4 separate regions of the Homo sapiens genome follow, and regions 2, 3 and 4 are each linked to region 1. Evidence: promoter capture Hi-C in 16 types of primary human blood cells and fetal thymus (Javierre and others, 2016). All regions are on one chromosome and are shown on one strand. The core of a region is centred on a gene start or on the middle of the fragment in contact, and the rest is flanking DNA. Distances in the headings are between cores, read along the strand shown.

Evidence for each region. Contacts are between HindIII fragments. The CHiCAGO score rates a contact against its expected background, and 5 or more counts as called.
Region 2: a fragment that was not itself captured here is called in contact with the fragment with the promoter of LIAT1 in region 1 in 14 of 17 cell types (M1 macrophages, M0 macrophages, M2 macrophages and 11 more); the score reaches 13.6 in M1 macrophages.
Region 3: the fragment with the promoter of DOC2B here is called in contact with the fragment with the promoter of LIAT1 in region 1 in 2 of 17 cell types (M2 macrophages and endothelial precursors); the score reaches 5.6 in M2 macrophages.
Region 4: a fragment that was not itself captured here is called in contact with the fragment with the promoter of LIAT1 in region 1 in 12 of 17 cell types (megakaryocytes, non-activated CD4 T cells, naive CD8 T cells and 9 more); the score reaches 12.9 in megakaryocytes.

What each region holds. Positions count from the first base shown.
Region 1 is chr17:409,053-411,624 of GRCh38, reverse strand. LIAT1 (ligand of ATE1) reads right to left here and starts at 1,300. Exons shown (of 2, transcript NM_001013672.5): 1 at 979-1,300. The coding sequence starts at 1,282. All of the region lies in intron 2 of LOC105371430 (a long non-coding RNA gene), which reads left to right. RefSeq lists a silencer at 1,159-1,248. The HindIII fragment of the contact is 6,027 bases long and covers 1-2,572 here.
Region 2 is chr17:662,846-665,417 of GRCh38, reverse strand. All of the region lies in intron 4 of VPS53 (VPS53 subunit of GARP complex), which reads left to right. Among named protein-coding and RNA genes, the nearest start is that of VPS53, 51 kb to the left of the region's middle. The HindIII fragment of the contact is 6,306 bases long and covers 1-2,572 here.
Region 3 is chr17:180,377-182,948 of GRCh38, reverse strand. It overlaps DOC2B (double C2 domain beta), which reads left to right and starts at 1,299. Exons shown (of 9, transcript NM_003585.5): 1 at 1,299-1,842. The coding sequence starts at 1,470. RefSeq lists enhancers at 414-915, 2,377-2,572. The HindIII fragment of the contact is 7,942 bases long and covers 1-2,572 here.
Region 4 is chr17:538,491-541,062 of GRCh38, reverse strand. All of the region lies in intron 17 of VPS53 (VPS53 subunit of GARP complex), which reads left to right. It overlaps VPS53-AS1 (VPS53 antisense RNA 1), which reads right to left. Exons shown (of 3, transcript XR_007065570.1): 2 at 460-674. Among named protein-coding and RNA genes, the nearest start is that of VPS53-AS1, 17 kb to the right of the region's middle. The HindIII fragment of the contact is 2,374 bases long and covers 64-2,437 here.

The DNA.
Region 1 (2,572 bases), core at 51-2,550:
ATGGATAACGTATTAACAGTCTGTGTGTGTAGACTAGGAATGTGTGTGCATGAGGGGGATCTGTGCTTTAGTTTTCTTGTTTGTTTTTTTGAGAGACAGGGTCTTGCTTGTTGCCCAGGCTGGAGTGCAATGGTGCGATCATAGCTCACTGCAGCCTGGAAGTCCTGGGTTCAAGTGATCCTCCCACCTCGGCCTCCCAAAGTGCTCGGATTACAGGTGTGAGCCACTGCGTCCCGCCCTTTAGTTTCACTGTTGGTGTTACATTGATAGAAGGTGGGGGGAGTGGTTGAGGGTGTCCCCCGCCCTTTAGTTTCACTGTGGGTGTTACACTGATATGAAGCGGGGAGTGGTTGAGGGTGTCAGGGATTATAGGAGGATGTCACAGTGACTGGTGTCATGGGGTTTGTGCAGTCCAAGGCTGCCCCTTGGTGGGTGCGAGGGGGAGCCCATGCAGCGAGGACCTTTAATACACACGTCTGTGGGTGTGGGTGTCTACCGCGCATCCACAGGCAGGCAGCCTTAACGCAAGAGGGTGGGAGGAGGGGAGGCAGGAGTCTGCCCTTCTCTGTGCATGAGAGTGAGGGCCTTTCATGTGGCATCAATGTGTTTGGGGTGGGGAAAGTGTCTTGTGAGGAGGGCCTCTGTGGGGAAGGCGCAGACGTTTAAGACTGCCAGTTTTGGCTGAGGGATTAGGAAGTTGAGAGGGTGTCTTTGTGTGGGGCTGGAAGGCTCTTAGGAATGGTGGATATCTGTAGGGGTCTCTGTGTGGGGCTAAGGGACCGCAGAGTTGGTGGATGGTCTCCACGGGTGGGGCTGGGGCATCAACGTGCTGCTGACGGGCATGTGTGGGGAGCAGGAGGACCTCGGTCCGGGACCACTGAGCTTCTGTTTCCGGTCTGAAGGGTAAATGGGGGGTGGGTCCCCAAAGAGTCTCCAGGGAACCGGAGCTGACGCAGCCGGGCTAGCTGCTCCTCTTACCGTCCCCCTTGCCAGACCCCTTGGTCTTCTTCTTCCTTTTTTTCTTCTTCACCTTCCGTTTGGCCAGCTCGGAGGCGCCGCCTGTGATGGGGGGCAGTCTAGACCCCCGCGGGCCCGCGGCGCCGCCCTCCCGCTCCTCCTCCTCGCCGTCGTTGTCCTTGTACCCCATTGTCCCCGCCCCACCGCGGCGGTCCAGCCGCCCGCTGGGCTGCAACCCAACCCGCCCCGGGGGCGCCCGAGGCCCGATGCCGACTAATCGGCGACTCTCAGCGCGGACCGCCAGGCCAGGGCCACGCGTCTCCATGGCGACCACCCCTGCTGCGCCTGCGCAGTCAGGACGCTTCCGCCCGGTGCCCCACGGACCGCGGTGTGCGCATGCGTGCTTCCGTCTTTTGGCGACCTTGGCACACAGCGGTGTGCGCATGTGTGCTTCTGTCGGGGATCTCGAGAACAGAGCGTTGTGCGCATGCGTACATCTGTCGGAGTGCTAGGTACGCAGCGGTGCGCGCATGCGTGCTTCCATCTGTTGGCGATACCGGCACAGCGATGTGCGCATGCGTGCTTCTGTCTGCGGAGACCTCCGCGCATAGAAGTGTGCGCATGCGTGCGTCTGTCGGAAACCTCCGCACACAGAGGTGTGCGCATGCGTGCTTCTGTCGGGGACCGCGGCGCACGGTGGTTCGCCCATGCTTGCTTTTGTCTGTTGGAATCTGGACAGTTGACCGCAGGAAGGGGAGGGTGGGCAGAGAGATTTTAAATCCCTGGGCTGACACTCATCTCGTCCAGTCCCGTGCCTCGATCCTCCTGCCTTGGCCTCCCATCCCCACGCCTGGCTAAGAGTTTTGATTTTTGGTTTCAGGCTGGTCTCGAACTCCTGGGCTCCATCGATCTTCCCGCCTCGGCCTCCTAGATCGCTGGGATCACAGGCATGAGCCTCCGTGCTCGGCCTCCTGTACCTTTTTAAATGCTGTGTATTCTCCCCTCAATTTTTATTGCCTGAGTTTCAGCCTCGTACATCTACCCTGGACTCTCAAAGCCAATGTGTCCAAAACAAACTTACTTCTTCATGGTTTTCCACTTTAGTGAACAAAACCGCTGGACTGGCTGGAAACCTGGTGGGCTTCCGTGTCCCCTACCCTCTCCCTTGTCCCTTACCCAGGCTGGGGCCGACTGCCGTGTCTGGCACTGGGACTTCTGGGTCCTCTCCTGAATGGTCTCTGCTTTCAAACCTTCCCCACGAACTCTTTTTCCGCACAGCTGCTAGAACAAACTTTTAAAAACAACCAAACCGTTCACTCTCTTGCTAAAAGTCTCCAGTGATGAAAAACAAAACATAAAAAGCCAAAAAGTCCTCCATTGCTTCCTCATCACAATTTACATCAAGATCTAAACTCTTGTGGGGCTCTGTGCAGGGCTGACACCCGTAGTCCCAACACTTTGGGAGGTCAAGGTGGGTGGATCGCTTGAGCCCATTCTGGGCAACGTAGTGAGACCCCATCTCTACAAAAAATTAACCAGCTGCGCTGAGGGGCACTTGTGGAGGAACTTGAGCCTGCAGTGAGCCGAGATCGCACCACTGCTGTCCAGCCTGGGT
Region 2 (2,572 bases), core at 40-2,539, 250 kb before region 1:
GAAAAGAGATTTCTTATAATTCTGGAGGCTGGGAAGTCCAAGGTCAAGGGGCCCACATCAGGCAAGGGCTTCTTACCGCATCTTCCCGCGGCGAGGGCTTTCTCACTGCGTCGTCCCGCGGCGAGCGCCTTCTCACCATGTCGTCCTGCGGCGAGGGCCTTCTCACTGCGTCGTCCCATGGCAGAGTTGGAAGGCAAGAAAGTGTGTGCATGCACGAGAAAGTGGCTGAACAGATCCTTTTATCAAGAACCCACTCCCGAGATAATGCCATTCATTTGTTCGTGAGGGCAAACCCCTCATGACCTGGTCACCTCGTAAAGGCCCCACCTGCCAACACCATTGCATTGGGGATTATGTTTCCAACACATGAACTTTGGGGATGCATTCCAGCCATAGCACAGGCACCCGTAACGTATTGCAGATGGGACTCTTCACTTCCAGCCCCGCCACCACCACACACACCTGCCTGTCAAGCCCGTCCTCCTCCTGCATTCCCTGGTTCAGACAGTGAACCCTGGCCTTGGCTTTTCAACCAAAACCCGGGCGTCATCCTTGGTTCTCCCTCTCCCTCATCACCCACACACAGTCCATCAGTGAGTCCTACACATTGTACCTTCCTGGAAACCCTGAATCGCTCGGCGTCTTCCCGTCAGCACCGGCTGCCTCTTCTAGGCCTCCACCGTCTCGTGGACACTGCAGCAACTTCTCACAGAGCTTTCACTCCCGCTTTCCCTCCTGCCCCTGCACAGCCCCTTTGCCACACAGCAGCCAGGACAGTCTTATACAAGTAAGCCATACATCTGTCCCTTGTTTAGACCCTTCAGTGGCTTCTCATTGGCACTTAGAGCAGAATCCTTATGCTTTGAGGCCTCCGTGCTCTGGCTCGTGCCCACCTCTCCAGATTATTTCCAGACACTTCCCGCTGCAATATTGCACTACCACCTACTGTCTGTCTTTTCGGACCTCCAAAACACCGAGGTCTTTTCTCTGTCAGGATCTTCACATTTGCTTTTCTCTCTGCTGAAAATCCTCTTACTCCAGGCTGGGCGCGGCGGCTCACGTCTGTAATCCCAGCACTTTGGGAGGCCGAGGCGGGCAGATCACGAGGTCAGGAGATCGAGACCATCCTGGCCAACACGGTGAAACCCCGTCTCTACTAAAAATACAAAAAATTAGCCAGGTGTGGTGGCAGGTGCCTGTAGTCCCAGCTACTCGGGAGGCTGAGGCAGGAGAATTGCTTGAACCTGGGAGGCAGAGGTTGCAGTGAGCTGAGATCACGCCACTTAACTCTAGCCTGGGCAACAGAGTGAGACTCCATCTCAAGAAAAAAAAAATCATCTTACTCCAAATCTACAAATTCTCACACCTCCTCATCCTGCAGGTCCCGATTTGTGTGCCCTTTCTCAGGAGACCTTCTGTGACCACCATCTCCCTTATTCTCATCACTGCATAAGTCCTTCACCACACCTGTCAATTCACCACACTTAGGAATTATCTTGTTTCTTTATTTTGTTGTTTTTCCAGGATCTCCTCCCCCTTACTTCTCAAAGTAAGTTCATTCCTTGAGGACAGAGAGAGAGACCATACTGTCTTGTTTACCATTGGATTCCCAATGCCTAGAATCATGCCTGGTATATGGGAGGCATTCAGTAAATACTCATTGAGTGATTGAAGGAGTGAATTAAGGAGATGCTGACTCGTGCCTAGAACTATAACTGCCTCAGGAATTCATAGTCTTTAGTCACGGACAGTCCAGTGCATGTGGTCTATACACATCCGTGGCCTGCTGACACGCTCACAGACACTTTAGCTGTAGGTAGTCTTTACTCACGGACGGTCCAGTGCCTGTGGTCTATACACGTCTGTGGGCTGCTGGCACTCACAGGTACTTTAGCTGTAGGTAGTCTTTACTCACGGATGGTCCAGTGCATGTGGTCGATACACGTCTGTGGGCTGCTGGCACTCACAGGTACTTTAGCTGTGGGTAGTCTTTACTCACGGACGGTCCAGTGCATTTGGTCTGTACACGTCTGTGGCCTGCTGGCACTCACAGGAACTTTCTGGTCTCCACATGTCACAACTGCCCTCATGTTGCTTCCCCTCCTAGCAGAAGCTGCAGCTGTGTTGTAATACTTTCATTGTGTAGCATCTGTCCTTGTAGGTTTTTATTTCAGTGGAAATGCTGGGCTCACCATTAGCTTTTTGCTTGTTTTTTTGAGACAAGATCTCGCTCAGTCACCAGGCTGGAGTGCAGTGGCATGATCACAGTTCACTGCAGCCTTGACCTCCCAGGCTCAAGTAATCTTCCCACCTCAGCCTCCCAAGTAGCTGAGACTACTGGTGTGCGCCACCATGCCTGGCTAACTTTTTTTTTTGCAGAGACCGAGTCTTGCCATGTTCCCCAGGCTAGTCTTGAACTCCTGGGCTCAAGCAATCCTCCTGCCTCAGCCTCTGAAGTGCTGGGATTACAGGTGTGAGCCACCATTAGCTTTCTGCCTGCCTGCCTGCCTGCCTGCCTGCCTGCCTTCCTTCCTTCCTTCCTTCGTTCCTTCCTTCCTTCCTTCCTTCCTTC
Region 3 (2,572 bases), core at 50-2,549, 230 kb after region 1:
GAGGCTCAAAGAGGTCAAATAGCCTGCCAGAACTGTGCAGCTGGAAGCCACAGGCCAAGGCTTTGCCTCTCTTTCCTCTGCTCCCCATCACTCTGCAGGGGTTATGGTGGGGGAACAAGAGAGGCTTGGAGCCCCTCATTCAGATGCACCAAAGGCACCCACTAAGAAGCTAAGTGTCTTACACATCAGTGGAAACCAGAGGGTAAACAGGATTCCATCCATGCCCAGGGCTTTCCGGGAACACACCTGTCCAAGCAGCAGCAGTTCCCAACAGAGCTCTGGTCCCGGAAAGCCGGACAGCCAGGGCTGGGCCCTCTGGGATTTGTTTAGTGATCTGACCGTGTGGGAGGCCTAGAGTAGGAGTGGGGGTGGGGGGAGCGTGCCGCCCAGCCTTATTGCATCACTCACCGCCCAGGCCCTGCCCTCACTCCCTCCTGACCAGGCCCTGTGCAGGTTCTCAGCCACCCTGCCCCGGGGGGTCCTTCAGACTGTACTCACTGACCAAGTGAGGGACTGACCCGAGGTTAGAGTGCTGTGTTGTATGTGACCTGAGAATATGTGTGCACAGACTGAGCCCCGGTGTCCTTGTGCAGTTGAGCGTGTACATGTCCTGCCCGTGTGTAGGCAACCTGTCCCTACATGCTAGGAGTGTGACTCCACGTCCTGCTAGAGGGGGAGGAGAGAAGGAGTTGTGCCCAGGGTCCCCTGATCACTTCTATGGGCTCATGTTTGTGCATCTTGTTAGGGGTGCTTGGGGGTAGGGAAGCCTGTGCCCTGGGTGCCCTTGATCACCTGTGTGTGTGCTCCATCAGGTGTGCGCGCCTGTGCATTGGGGGTGTACTGTGTCACAGCTTCCTAAAACAACCATGTGCGCATGCAGACGTTTGCGTGTGTGACCTACGGTGTGAGCGAGCGGATGCTTCCACCACGTGTCTCTGCACACGCATGTGTGCACTTGCACACCTGCGTGTGTCCCGAGAGAGCGAGCGGAGCCCAGCGTGGGCTGGCACGCGCGGGAACGTGTGGGTGCGCGTCCTGCGGGTCCCTGCCGGGTTGACTCCCAGCTTGTGCCGCGGGCGTGCATGAGCGGAAGGCGCCCGGCGGCCCTGCCTGGCCGCGAGTGTGCGCGCGCGGGGTCCCGGGCCGGCGTGCACGCCGGTGTGAGTGCGAGTGCGAGTGAGTGTGGCGCCGCGCGGCTCCCTCCGCTCCGCGCCGCCCGCGCAGCCCGCACACTCACCCTGCTTGGTTGCTGCCGGGTGACGCGGGCTGGGCCCGCCCCCTGCCTGCCGGCCTCTGGCACTCGCTCGCGCCGTCCGCAGCGGAGCGGGCAGCGGCCAAGTCAGGGCCGTCCGGGGGCGCGGCCGGCGATGCCCGCAGCCCCCGCCGCGCCCCGCCGGGCCTGCTGAGCCGCCCCCGGGCCGGGGTCGCGCCGGGCCGGGCCGCGCCCGGGGCGGGGCGGCGCTGCCTGCATGACCCTCCGGCGGCGCGGGGAGAAGGCGACCATCAGCATCCAGGAGCATATGGCCATCGACGTGTGCCCCGGCCCCATCCGTCCCATCAAGCAGATCTCCGACTACTTCCCCCGCTTCCCGCGGGGCCTGCCCCCGGACGCCGGGCCCCGAGCCGCTGCACCCCCGGACGCCCCCGCGCGCCCGGCTGTGGCCGGTGCCGGCCGCCGCAGCCCCTCCGACGGCGCCCGCGAGGACGACGAGGATGTGGACCAGCTCTTCGGAGCCTACGGCTCCAGCCCGGGCCCCAGCCCGGGTCCCAGCCCCGCGCGGCCGCCAGCCAAGCCGCCGGAGGACGAGCCGGACGCCGACGGCTACGAGTCGGACGACTGCAGTAAGTTTCCCACGCGCCGACTTCGCGCCCCCTCCCCTGGCTCGGGCTCGGCCCCCCCACGGCCTCGCGGCTTCCCTCCGCCGGTCCCCCTCGCGCGCTCGCGCTCTGCCTCGGTTCACAACCCCGCCGCGGGCTTGCGGGCCCCTGGCGCACTCGGTGCGCTCTCCGCGCCCTGCCCACCGGCCTCGAGCCCTCCCCCGACCCAGGCCGGACAGGAGGGAAGTTCGGGGGCACCCCCTGGGGGTGTCCCATTTCCGGGGCCGGGTTCCTCGGAGCCGGCGCCGCGCCCCCTCCCTGCCAGCCCGCCCTCCCGGAGCTCCGGCGCGGGCGGCTGCTTTTGTTCCCGGGAAGGGCGGAGCTGCGTCCCGGGGAGACACCAGTTGCTGCCGGCCGCGCGGTCGCTCCCCGCTCGCCAGCCGCTCCGGGAGGGCCTCGCGGCCGAGGGTCGGGGCTGGGGCGAGCTGGGGAGGGGCCCGAGGCTGGGAGCGGCCCGGCCTCCCGCGTGGTCCCGGCGGCCCGCAGAGCGCAGCTGCTTTGCTGGCGCGCGAGCAGAGGACCAGGAGGACCGCGGGGCCGCTTGTCCTTTGGAAAAACCTTGGCGTTTCCTCCTCCGGTGTCCATGGACCCCGCCGCAGCCCTCGCCAGGGCCGCGCACCTTCGCCCACCTGTTACGCCCGCGGCCCCCGGGCAGAGAGGGCCCCCCAGCCCGCTCCCCCTCCTCCCGGACTGA
Region 4 (2,572 bases), core at 1-2,500, 130 kb before region 1:
TCTAATCCAGTGAAGAAGTAGGAATTTAAGTATTCACATTTTCAAGAAACCTCTTTCCAAGCTTCCTATAGCAATAGGAAAAAACAAGATCCACTGAAGCTAGTTGTGGAGCGCTGTTCTCTGGTCAAAGTTCCTGCTACAGTAGACTCTCTCTAGAAAGAGTGCTGACCCCCCAGCCCCACTGTGGAGCGTCAGTCAGAGCACATACTTCCTGCCCAGGCCGCAGAAGCTGGGCTCTGGGGACACTCTGGGCCCTGCAGTCTCTTCTTGTGGTGGTTAAACTAGGTCCCGGAGGCACTCATCATTCTTACTGTCTTCAAACTGTGTCTCATTTAGATAGTAGTACCAGTTGAACGCCATCTGTATTCAACTCTACCCAAGCCCCCAAAACAAAAAGCACAACAAGAAACAATTTTAAGTGTAGAGGGGTAACTTCTAAATGTCAAATGAAAAGTTTACCTGGAAAAGTTGAGGTCTCATTTCTACTGATGGCTTTTCATGATGTTTGTTCTTCCAATGCAAGGTACTGTTTGTTTCCTTTTTTGAAAGAGTTCTTTGGGCCAGGCGTGGTAGCTCACACCTGTAATCCCAGCACTTTGGGAGGCTGAGGCAGGAGGATTGCTTGAACCCAGGAGTTCAAGACCAGTCTGGGCAACACGGTGAGACCCCTGTCTCTACAAAAAGTAAAAAAGAAAAAAATATATTTTTTTAATTAGCTGAGCATGGTAGTGTACACCTGTGGTCCCAGCTACTTGGGAGGCAGAGCTGGGAGGATTGCTGGAGCCCAGGAAGTCAAGGCTGCAGTGAACTATGATTGTACCACTGCACTCCAGCCTGGGCAGCAGAGACTCTGTCTCAAAAAAAAATGAAAAATAAAGAGTCCTTTGCTTGATCACTATGTTTCATTAGCGTCTCCTTGAGAAACAGGCCTTACCTTTAACGAAGGCCTAGTTAAGTGCTTTTATTCTTTTTTTGGGCAGGGTGGCGGGGGCGGGTCGGGGGGGAAGTTGTCTAGCAAGCACCTTGTTGTGGGGTTTGGGCTTTAGATAGACCTGGTTGGGCTTTAGATAGACCGGGTTTGGGCTTTAGATAGACTTGGTTTGGGCTTTAGATAGACCTGGTTTGGGCTTTAGATAGACGTGGTTGTCCCAGCTGTGAAATTTTGTGCAAGATACCAAATCTCTTTGAGCTTTTTGAATTTCCTCATCTATAAGGTTGTTGTGAGAACTTAGTGAGATCATGTATGAATAGTAAATGAGACGACGTATGTTTAGGGCCATGCAAAGGGACCTGCGAAGTTCGGTCTTAATGTAGCTATCCTGGGCAGTTCAGGTTGTGACCCAAACCTTCAGTCACCCATGGGGGATGATGGCAAGCATCAGCCATCTGAGGCTGGAGTGCAGTGGTACAATCACAGCTCCCTGCAGCCCCAACCTTCTGGGCTCCAGTGACCCTCCTGCCTCAGCCTCCCTGGTAGCTGAGACTATAGGCGTGTGCCACATTTTTAAAAAATACTAAAGGTAAGGTCACCTTTTATTGTTTTCTAGTACTTTAAATCACTTTCTTAGTTGACTAAGCTGACTTAAGTTTAAAATCATGAATCCACTTGGCCTTTGCTAATACTTCTTTTAGCTTGACCAATGGAGTCATGACTGACCAGAGTATTAAAGCAAATCAGCTCTTTTCACATATATTCCAAATGTGGGCACATACTGACTTGGCCAGTGATCATCAAGAGGAGTTCGGTGACGAGCATGCGGAATAACCAGTGGGAAGTTGAAGAAATCCCAGGCCCCTGCTTGGTCTTGCTTCAGAGCTGCTTTGTAACTGGTGACAGAGCACGTCGCCACCTTCTTTCATGGAGGGCTGTCATGTTTAGATTATTGTTGATAAACCGTTTTGAGATTTTGAAATATACAAAGCTGCCAGCTTGGAAAGTAACAGTCATTGCTATGGACATGATTGGCTTTGGGGGCATCAAGCCCTCCCAGTTCGCTGTGTCTACCCAGAACATTCTGCTCCGAGTCCTGCTGCAGAGCCCAGGAAATGCTGACAGCACCTGTCAATTTTGGCCTCACCCTATGAGCTCATTTAAAATCACCCAGGATGCTCATTGTTTGGATGGGTCAAATCTTCAAAATCAAATGGAAAAAGAAGCCTCTTGCGTAAGATAAAAGATAATGAGGAAAACATTTCACATAACCAAAGCATTAGAATGTTAAGTCACTTCATATTAGACCTTTCTACTGTTTCTTCATTGTTTGTTTCTGTTTTTTCCCAGTAATAAATTAGAGTTCTTTTTCCTGTGTGGAGCCTGGTTATGAAACCTTGCATAAGACTCTTCATGTTTCTGGGCCTTGGCTTTCTTATCTGTGAAATGAAGATGGAGGTCCCTTCCTGCTTTTCTGTGGTTCTGTGTGTACACATCCCTAAAGCTTTTAGAATACAAATATCCGCTGATTTGAAAAAACATTAGGAGTCATTTGAGCTTCCCACAGCTGGAGAATCATCCACGTACGATGTGATTCTTTTAAACAAGCTCTCTCAGTATTGATTTTTTCCTTTCCCCAAG